Linked DNA regions of Homo sapiens: regions 2 and 3 are each linked to region 1. The links are contacts of gene promoters, found by promoter capture Hi-C in blood cells and fetal thymus (Javierre and others, 2016). All regions are on one chromosome and are shown on one strand. Each heading gives the region's core, a stretch centred on a gene start or on the middle of the fragment in contact. The rest is flanking DNA. Distances are from core to core; before and after follow the strand shown. Region 1 holds the start of APOL6 (apolipoprotein L6). Region 2 overlaps RBFOX2 (RNA binding fox-1 homolog 2). Region 3 overlaps RBFOX2 (RNA binding fox-1 homolog 2).

The links. The method cuts DNA at HindIII sites, captures the fragments that hold promoters and counts their contacts. A CHiCAGO score of 5 or more calls a contact.
Region 2: a contact is called between a fragment that was not itself captured here and the fragment with the promoter of APOL6 in region 1, in 1 of 17 cell types (M1 macrophages). The highest score is 6.0, in M1 macrophages.
Region 3: a contact is called between a fragment that was not itself captured here and the fragment with the promoter of APOL6 in region 1, in 2 of 17 cell types (endothelial precursors and total CD4 T cells). The highest score is 6.8, in endothelial precursors.

The regions. Positions count from the first base shown.
Region 1 is chr22:35,646,786-35,650,136 of GRCh38, forward strand. It overlaps APOL6 (apolipoprotein L6), which reads left to right and starts at 1,661. Exons shown (of 3, transcript NM_030641.4): 1 at 1,661-1,838. RefSeq lists an enhancer at 1,366-1,665. The HindIII fragment of the contact is 8,876 bases long and covers 1-2,796 here.
Region 2 is chr22:35,773,029-35,776,379 of GRCh38, forward strand. The region is part of intron 5 of RBFOX2 (RNA binding fox-1 homolog 2); the gene reads right to left. Among named protein-coding and RNA genes, the nearest start is that of APOL5, 57 kb to the left of the region's middle. The HindIII fragment of the contact is 1,489 bases long and covers 763-2,251 here.
Region 3 is chr22:35,749,427-35,752,777 of GRCh38, forward strand. The region is part of intron 11 of RBFOX2 (RNA binding fox-1 homolog 2); the gene reads right to left. Among named protein-coding and RNA genes, the nearest start is that of APOL5, 33 kb to the left of the region's middle. The HindIII fragment of the contact is 777 bases long and covers 1,156-1,932 here.

The DNA of each region.
Region 1 (3,351 bases), core at 411-2,910:
GTTTCACAAGAGCCCTGGTGGTAAACACTGCCCCCATCCAATGGCCGGTCTGGCCCCTGAGACTCCCAGGACCGAGCAGTGACCACAACATCTGGGTCCGTTGCCAGGGAAAACAACAGGCAGGCCTGGGATGGCTCAGCGGCCCCAGCCAGGCAGCCAAGTCCTCCTCAAGGTCAGGCTGTGTTTAGCGTGTTCCCCAAGTGTGGGAGGCCAGGAGCAGGGGTGGGTTGTGGAATCCGGGATGCCACGGTTGGAAAGGCCCCTACAAGACCCAACTCAGCAGCCCTTAACCCCTCATTCCTGCTCGTAGGGCCCAGGGACAGGAGGTGGCCTCTATCACAGCAAAGCCAGGACTGGCTAGGTGGGCCGCACCTTCTGCAAAGCAACAGCCTCCAATGTGGTCTCAGCTAGGGGTGGTGACTGGGGACTTCTGGGCATATAAATACAAACAAACCACATGGCTTCTGATCACAATTTGACACAAATGCTAGAGAGACACAGATCTCAGCCCGTAACCTCACTGTGGGCTCATTCTTGTAGACACAGAGCCTAGGACTGGTTCTTAGCTGTGTAATCACAAACAACCCACAACTTCTAGAAGCCTGGGTTTCCTCTTCCTTAAAGTGGGAGACAGAGTATCACAATCCTATATCTCCAATCCTTGAGGCCAGATGCATGTCAGAGTTCCTGATTTGGGGGATTTTTAGAAAGGTAATGGGGTGCAGGTATCGTGTACTATGTAACCCACGCACCCGCAGCAGCCCTCCTCAGTCAAACATATTAATATTTCTGCAGTGACTGTAAATATTCAAATTAAGCAGGAGACATAAAAACCACAGGTGAATTCATGCCAGATCAGGTCAGGTTTTGCCACTAAATGAATAAATTATCATTTTTTTTTAAGTTTTCATTCTGAGGCCAGGTGCGGTGGCTCACGCCTGTAATCCCAGCACTTTGGGAGGCCTAGATGGATGGATCATTTGAGGTCAGCAGTTTGAGACCAGCCTGGCCAACATGGCAAAACCCCATCTCTACTAAAAATACAAAAATCAGCCGGGCGTGGTGGCAGGTGCCTGTAATCTCAGCTACTAGGGAGGCTGAGACAGGGGAATAGCTTGAACGTAGGAGGCGGAGGTTGCAGTGAGCCGAGATCGTGCCATTGCACTCCAGCCTGGGCAACAGAGCGAGACTTCATCTCAAAAAACAATAATAATAATAATAATAAAATAAAGTTTCCATTTTCAGAGGATTCTGCATTCAGAGTTATTAGCCCTTTAATGCTGTGCACCTCATAGGGTTGTTACCCACATCAGCGTCACGTAAGATGCTGTGGAGGAAAGCAGTTTCAGAACAATCAGTGATGACAGCTACTGTGAATCCACTATTCAACAGGCGCCCCATCGCTTGCTCATGGGCTCCTCACCATAGCTCTAAGCCACAGGAGCTATTTTCATACCCCATATAGGTCCATCCTATAACACAGCCAGGACAGAGACGAGAGACTCAGGCCTCCTGACTTGGATTCTGCTCTTTCACCTCCTTGTTCATCCAATTAGAGAAACTGGCAAAAAGGAAACTGAAAGTGACAGCTGGAGCCCATGATTTCCTGGAAGAGCCCTAGAGCTTTGCTTTTTCTCTCCTGCAGCACTTAACCGAAACCAGTTTTGCAATCAATTCCTGTTCAAAGGCCACCCTACTCTTCCTATCCGTCTTTCTCCAGCCCAGACACTCACAGCCCCCTGCCAGACCAGGGGACCTCGGAGAGGCAAGGACAGAGGTTCAGGATCTTCCTCTCCCTCGGGACCCAAGGCCACAAAGGAGAGCTCCGTGGAGAGAAGGTGAGACGGCGGGCAGAAGTCGGGGGAGGAGGGGGCTGCCGCTCTGGTCCCTGAAGGACAGAGCCCCCAAGGGGTTGGCTTTAGGCACCTGACTCAGGGAAAAGAGCTGCTGTGAAAGCAGCGGGGTTCAAATGCCAGCCAGAGCTTGAGGAGAGTCTGAGGATTAACTTCTCCTGTGTTAATCCTGGTAGGTTTCCCTCCCTTACAGCCATTTCAGGGTTAAATTGAAACATGCTAAAGCATGCGATGTGACTAGCCAAGTTGCATTTGTCCCTCCACTGCTGGGGATCCGAGGGCTTAGGCAGAGGGGACCTGGCCCTTAGAAAGCAGATGATTACATCAGCCACAGGCGTTTCCCTAGAAATTCAGTAGAGGAGTGGTTTAGGGGTGTCATCTCACAAGAAAAAAGGTGCTGGGTGAGTTGTCTAGAAACTGCAAAGCCAACCTACAGAGTTTTCTAGATTGTAGATTTATGTGAAGTTGTTTGGGGAAGAGGGTGAGGGAGTTTGTGATAAATATTAGGGCGACTAGGCCAGGCGCAGTGGCTCATGCCTGTAATCCCAGCATTTTGGGAGGCTAAGGCAAGCGGATTGCTTGAGCCCAAGAGTTTGAGACCAGCATGGGCAACATAGTGAGACCCCGTCTCTACAAAAAATCAAAAAATAGCTGGGCGTGATGGTGCACACCTGTAGTCCCAGCTACTTGGGAGGGTGCTGAGGTGGAAGGATCACTTGAACCCAGGAAGTCAAGAATGCAGTGAGCAGTGATCGCACCACTGCACTCCAGCCTGGGCAACAGAGTGAGACCCGGTCTCAAAAAAAAAAAAAAAAATCTAGGGAGGTTATCTTGAAGCTGTGTTTTCAAAGTAAGCAGATTTTTCTTACTTAGATTGTGTATCTGCAGAAGTTGGTTTTGTGGGGGAAGGCAGGTAAGGAAAGACTGTCATAAATATCCTGTAAGCTTTCAAATGAAAGTAAGTTCTCAAATCCTCTTCCAATAAACCTCTCACAAGCAAATCCTCTCGCAACCACCAAGAGCAGGTCAGAGGGGATGGAATGGGACCTGCTTAGATGAGTTTCCTGCTGTTACCTTTGCCCTGCATCCCATAGGACTAATGTAAAAAAATGAGAGAGGTATTGGCGGACGCTGGTAAAAAATGGGGTTCCAGACCAGAGTCTCTTACCCCCAGCAACCTTGTCATGTTCAACCAGGTGATCCCTGGTTGTGGGGGCTGTCCTCTGCATCGTAGGGTGCTTGGCAGCATCCCTGGCCTCTGCCCTCTACATACCAACAGCAGTACCCTCTCCAGCTGAGACCATCAAAAATGTTTCCAGATATTAGCAGTGTCCCTGAGGAGCAAACACGCCCTGTTTGGGACCAACTACTCCAGACTCTGCGTGGCTGGAATTGCACAGGCTTTCCTGCTTACTGTGTGACACTGGCCTCCCTATGTCTCAGTTTGCACCTCTGTAAAATGGGCATCATCTTAGCACCGATCTCACTGGGTCACTGT
Region 2 (3,351 bases), core at 257-2,756, 130 kb after region 1:
GCCCATAATGGTAACAAAAGAAAAAAAAAAAACAAACTAAGCCCTTCAGAAACACATGCACTGTTAATTCTGTTTTAAATATAATAAAAACCATTTCACTTTGACATTACCTATTAAGTTTTACTGAAAGTCAAAAGGCCTACTTACTGTGACTTCCAAAAAAGTATTTTGATAATATTTTGAAAGAAATAAATAATTTCCCTTTGCATGAAATTAAAAGCCATGATAATAGGGAAAACATTACAGCAAATTACTTGTGTCTAAGGAATGGGAATAGAAGTTTTATCTCCCCTAACTACAGCCTAAACTTAAGCCCAACCTAAACCTAGATCCCCATTATTCCAGAAATCTACCTGAGAGAAGTAATGAGAACACATTAAGTAAACATTTGCTAGAATAATTAGAATGTTCCTAGCATAAAGAAAAGATAAATATTTAAGGTGATGGCTATCCCAATTACTCTGATTTGATTATATGAATGTATCAGATTATCACATATACCCTGAAAATATGTACATCTAATATCTATCAATTTTTAAAAAAGAAAAAAAATTGCTAGAAATCTAAATAATTATTGCTGGGCTGTATAATATTTGTAGTCCTTTAGTAGACTTAATAATGAGCACTATCTGAAGAGCTGAACAACTTCAGCATATTCAATATTTTAATACATATCCATTCAATAGAGGATATACCAAAGTATTTTGGCAAAAACTTATAGAAAATGTAAATGTTACAATCTGTGTATTTCTTTATTTAATAAGCTTGATAATTATCACCAAAAATTGTTATGTGGTTGGATGATGGTGAGTAAGATGGTAGAAAGTCTGACCCACAATGGAATAACTTTTGAATAAAACAAGTTCTTAATCACTAAAAGTTTCTAGCAGAGAATGCAAGGTCAAGAATACAGGGGGCTGAACTAGGTGACCATTTTGGGTTATGTTTTAAGGTTCTATATGAGAAAATAAGACTAGAAGGATACATGAGAATATCACTAGTGCACATTTCTCTTTAATAAACTATGTATTTTTTTCTTTATACTTTTCATTAAGCATCATGTTTTCCTTTTCAAAGACTGCTTTTTTAAGATGTTACCCAAAGCATATATAAGGAGAGTAAATAGTTTATCATTCAAACTGGGACATTCTGAGAGAGAAAGGGGTCATTTATTAATAATTATGCTAAGATAACAGGTGTAAATTGAGGCTAGCCTGGATAAGCCAGGAAATATGGTCACTCTAGGCATTATCTTATTATTTGTGTTAATAATCTGTCATTACTGGTGAAATCTGGAGAATTAACAAAGCTACATAAACTCATATAATAATTTTCTAGGTTCTATATGAATAAATTAGTTAATTTTTTGGCAGGAATACCACTTTCCATCATATATCTTAATAGTACATTTTTAAAAGCCTAGTCTATCTCTGTTTCAGTTAATCAAAGAAACTTAGATACAGGTGATTCTATGTTTTTATAAAGGATTAGGGAGTAAAAAGACTAAAATTCACATGAAATAATTTAAATATATATGTATGCACGTGTGTGCACAAATATGATATATATTCATTCTATAATCTAAGTAAGCCAAATCTAGAATATGAAGGCAAAAGAAGGAAAAAAGGAAAAAACTAGTCAACAACTAAGAAAAAACTACTATAGAGTAATTCTACTTTAAAGGCAAGCTGGAAAAAGAAGAATACTGGCAGACAAGGAGGGCATGAGCATGGCAGTGGAACACCGTTTACTTATGTTTTCAAATGGGTATATCCTAAAACCCTGGGTGATGGTCTTATTATACAAAATAAGATATGGTATGGAGTTGCTTTTTGCTTTGGAACAATTTGATTAAACCCTGTTTTACATTAAGTATTGCTATCTTAGAGTTATTTTGTGACTAGTTTTTCCATTACTGCTCTAAAAAAATTCAATAAAGCTAATTTCTGTACAGAAAAGCACTCTGTTTAAAAGTTAGAGGAACTCTTAGCTAAACAATAGGACTATATAAAGCCTCCTTTTCTCTGGTTATTTTCAAAATACGCTGTAATTTTACAGTCAACCCCAAACATATAAAAGGATTAAGAAACTAAACTTAATTCACAAAACAAAAAGTGCTCATTAATTTCTCTTAGGTGGATCCCAGAGGAGGCATCCATGGGTTTGATTCCAAAATAAATCTCTATTAGGAGCCTCAGAACAGTTCCAAGGGCACCCATTCCAGCAAATAACTTTAGGTAGCAGTTAAGAAAGCTTCAAAGGACAAAAACAAGGTTTTGTATCAGTCCTTGAAGGCAGATTCAGGGCAATTCTGAATTCTATGCTTTGTTTTTAAAACATTTACCAATTAGTACACAGTCTGTGCACCCTTTAGCAGCCCAAAGAAAAATGGGGCAGTGAGGACACAGCATCAAGCTGACAGAAGCAGCCTATGCTTTTAGATTTCTCAAAGAGAAAGCTCATGTCATTACTTTCAAATGAGTTACATGAGAGAAGTAATTGGATCAGGTAAATTTAAAAAAATGTGGGGCCAGGATGCAGTGGCTCACACCTGTAATCCCAGCACTGTGGGAAGCCAAGGCAGGCAGATCACTTGAGACCAGGAGTTTGAGACCAGCCTGGCCAACATGGTGAAACTCTGTCTGTACTAAAAATACCAAAAATTAGCTAGGGGTGGTAGTGTGCGCCTGTTATCCCAGCTACTCGGGAAGCTGAGGCACAAGAATTGCTTGAACCCAGGAGGCGGAGGTTGCAGTGAGTCAAGACTGTGCCAATGCAACTTTAGCCTGGGCAACAGAGCGAGAATCTGCCTCAAAAAAAAAAAAAAAAAAAAGAAAAGAAAAGAAAAGAAAAAGAATTGGTAGCAGGCAAATCCTTAAAGTCAATGAAAGAAGCCTTAAGAAAGATCAATTTCCTTTGCTTCACAATAATTCAAACAAATTATTTTCTTGGTAAGGAGTAAGTCCTCAATGCCTGATGAAACTACATTGGCCTTCTAGTTGTTAGATTCTAGTTAAGAATATTTTAAGTACATACACTTAACAACTAAAAATATTTAAAACTACTTCAGATAGTAGTTTACAGAGTGGCCAAAAATCTCCACATATTTATTTTACATTCATGTGCTTCTTATCTCTAAACCACTGTCATTTTCCCACCTTGTAGCTAAAAAAGATCACATAAAATAAACACAAACAATGCAACAAAGGAACAGAAATCCATCGTGAGAAAAATTATAAGCATAAATAGTTTACTGGTTGCAGTCTGAATAGACTTCACTTTAAAAAATACTTACCAAGTGCTGGAGAAAGTTCTGTATAGGCATATTAATCATTTTTGTTTTAACTGAAA
Region 3 (3,351 bases), core at 294-2,793, 100 kb after region 1:
TAACTTGGTAATTCACTAATGACTACTCCAAAAGTAGAAAAATTAATTGTGTATCATGGATGTATTCCTCTCTCTCTCTCTTACACACACACACGCACACACACACATACACTTACTCGAAAGTATTTTTGCTGCTTTATTCAACAAAACATATCACAAAATGTGAGAAAAAGAAAATTCAGATATATTTATTTCTATTCCAGATTTCAAAGTGCATAGAAATTTCAGGCTGAGAAACCGTTTTTTCAGCTTTCACTCTTACTAGCAAATCTAAAGGCTTTTATAAAACATGAGAACAAAGTGCAGTTTGAAACACCAAGGTTTTCATTACTGTTTCTTAAGTTTTTCAAAAAGAACAAGGGTGGGAAGGAGGTAGAAGAGACAGGGTTCAGGCGTGGGGAGGGATATGGCGCCACATTTATTAATCACATTAAAAACTAAGCATGCCAACATCTGGAGCTAAACAACCAGCAAAATCACCACGTTCAGACTCGTATTGGCTAACTCTATCTATCCCAGCATTCTCTTGGGACAGCGGTTTGCCCTAGGCTCTACCACAAGCTCGGTGAAGTACACAGCCTCAATTACTAGAGCGTGCAGCCACAACGACCTGGTATTACGGAAACAGTCAGTCACCACTTGAGTTAACATTCCATACCCTAACGACTGGCCCCTCCCCAGCCCAAAGAAATAGTCAATCTTGCCCACCCTAGCCCTGGCCCACACCACAATGTTAATAATTATAACAAGCAGTAACCCATCTGTTATATCAGAGAAGGGAACAGAGACTCCACTGAGAGATTTAGAGTGAGATGTTAACATTTCTTCAGCTGACTGCACAAACAAACAAACAAAAAAAGAGGAGAAATAATTCATTTGGAGATATGAAGTCATGAAATAGCTGATGTGTATTGCTTTTAACCATGCACTGATGCAAAACTGAAGCAACCATTAATAATAAAAATTAAAAAGGACATATGTATTTACACACAATCAGACCTGTTTGATCTGAAGCAGTTTGCAGATTCTATCTGTGTGTGATTTGAAATAAAACAAAAAATGGGGATTAGCATGGCCACAGCACACCCTAATGTAGGAGGGCACACACGGACGGCTTTTTGGAACTCTGATAGCTGGATAAATTTGGCTTGGCTAAGCTTGATTCAGATACACACATGCCCCTTTAAAAAGAATTATTCTTATTCCTTTGCAATTCATTCTGAATGATACCTGGTGTCCCCAGTGGGGCTGCCCAGTGCTTCATCGCTCCCCTATTCAACCTGCCTGACACTGGCAATATAATTCAGTCCTGACCCACAGCACTCACATGTATGCTCGCCCTCTGTCAACAACCGTATATTCTAATCCACAGCATTCTGCTAAAATATTTCCTGTGTTTAGGAATTTTACTTTTTCACATATCTGTAACCTATCTCTGACTTCAAGTTCCAGCTTCTTCAAAGGAAAATGCCTTTGAAAAGTTGGCTTTAAGATCCTTTCCAGTGTTTTCTGCAGTTGTTAAAGTCTCAGTTTTTCATGGCTCAATGTCATCTCCTAGGGCTTTTCTACTCTGCTCTGAGCCAATTTTATCATCAAATTAACTTTATGATGTTGCCACGTTGACCACATGATCTTTCGGCACAGTTCTGTAGCTGGGTTTTAAACTAGAGCAAAATACAATAGAATATAATCCCTCCTATATCTGACCTTTATCTGCATATTTATTAGTTTAATCTCACACTGGCAGACTTTTGCCTTGTCTTGATTTTAACCTAGCTTTTAATTTTATTATATTTTTGTTTTAGGTTTACATTAAAACAGGACTTTGGTGAGCATGTGATGTCAAGACACCTTCTTTCTACCCGGAAGACAATGACATTATGTGACACTGAGGAGGAGAGTGTGTATTTCAAGACCAGCAGACAAAATGAAAGCTTGTTACCTACATGTAGTGTATAGATCAATAGAGCAGAGGGTTGGGGGATGGCGGCAGGGGGTGGGTAAGGAATGGCAGGTGTGATGCTGAAAATCACTACAGCAGAGCAGAGATCTATTCCAACTAGCGTGGGTTTAATGCTGGGCCTCCAGGAATCACTTTATTTATCCTTGGATGAATCTAACTCCCTCTTTTTCCTCACCACCTCCCCACCCCTGCTAAGAACCATGGTTCTAGGAGATATTATAGAGTTCTTTTGTGGCAAAATGGCATCACTGATTAAATGTGAGTAACACACAAACTTACAATAATGGTGATACCGTCACTGCTTTTGATTGAGCTCTGTCTCCTTTGAAAAGTACTTATGAAAAAAATTTTAAAGTATTTAAATTTTATCTTATTATTGTTTAAAATTGGGGTTAAGGGAAAAAATTGCTATGATCAACCTGATGTCTTCCACCTATTATTTCTATGGTAGATGAGAGACGATTTTCAATAATCAAACCTTTCAAACATTATTATTCCACATCTCCCCAAATTAGTTCATTTCCAAAATCTTGCTGGGTAGCCACATAAATAAACTGGATTGTGAAAAGCCATCGACTATTTTCTTTCTCCTAGCATCCAGCTATCAGCAATCCTTCTAACAAGTATGCTATTATCCAAATGAACTCACTGATCTTCTTAGGTGAAAGGAGAAGAGGCCAAGGGAAATGCATGTCTCAATGTTTGAGTCCCATATGTCTAGATTTTTAAGGCAACTTCAAACTTATGTAGCAGCACAGTCCAATTACAACTGGTATCTCACTACAGGGCCCAATGTGGGATTCAGAAATCCTATTTGTACAGTTCTACTTCCTCTTTTTTCTCTTTTCTAAATTTATAGTAGTAAGAAAATGTCCCCAACTGCTAAGATCTAAATATAAAAAAACAGTTTAAATACCACAGGTACATGTGACTGACAGATTAAAAGAGGTGGCAGTGATGGGACAGTGCATATTACACACCTGGCTGGGATATGTGTCAAGAGGACAGGAGCACTTAATTTTAGAGGAAGTGCCATTATGTACGGAATGTGACTGTGGGCACTGCTGAGGTAGCAGGGCTTAGATCACACGCTCACAAGTCTTGATTGTCCAAAAAAGCCTCTGTTCCCATCTCTAACGTGGAGCTGGAATGGTTAGTATAATTCAATTTTTTCACTGCAATCCACAATCTGATTGATTGGCAGGTCACACTGGCACTCCTACCTGAGGTATTTTAGCGCTAATGATTGGTTCCTGTAAGACTATTCTATAACAGAACACAGGAAGAGCAGTTCAAAAAACACAGCTGTGGAAGGAAAACAATCATACAAAAAGCCCACTAAGGGGCCCACCAGCCTTTTCTTTCCTTTGGATGCAAGCATGCTTTTC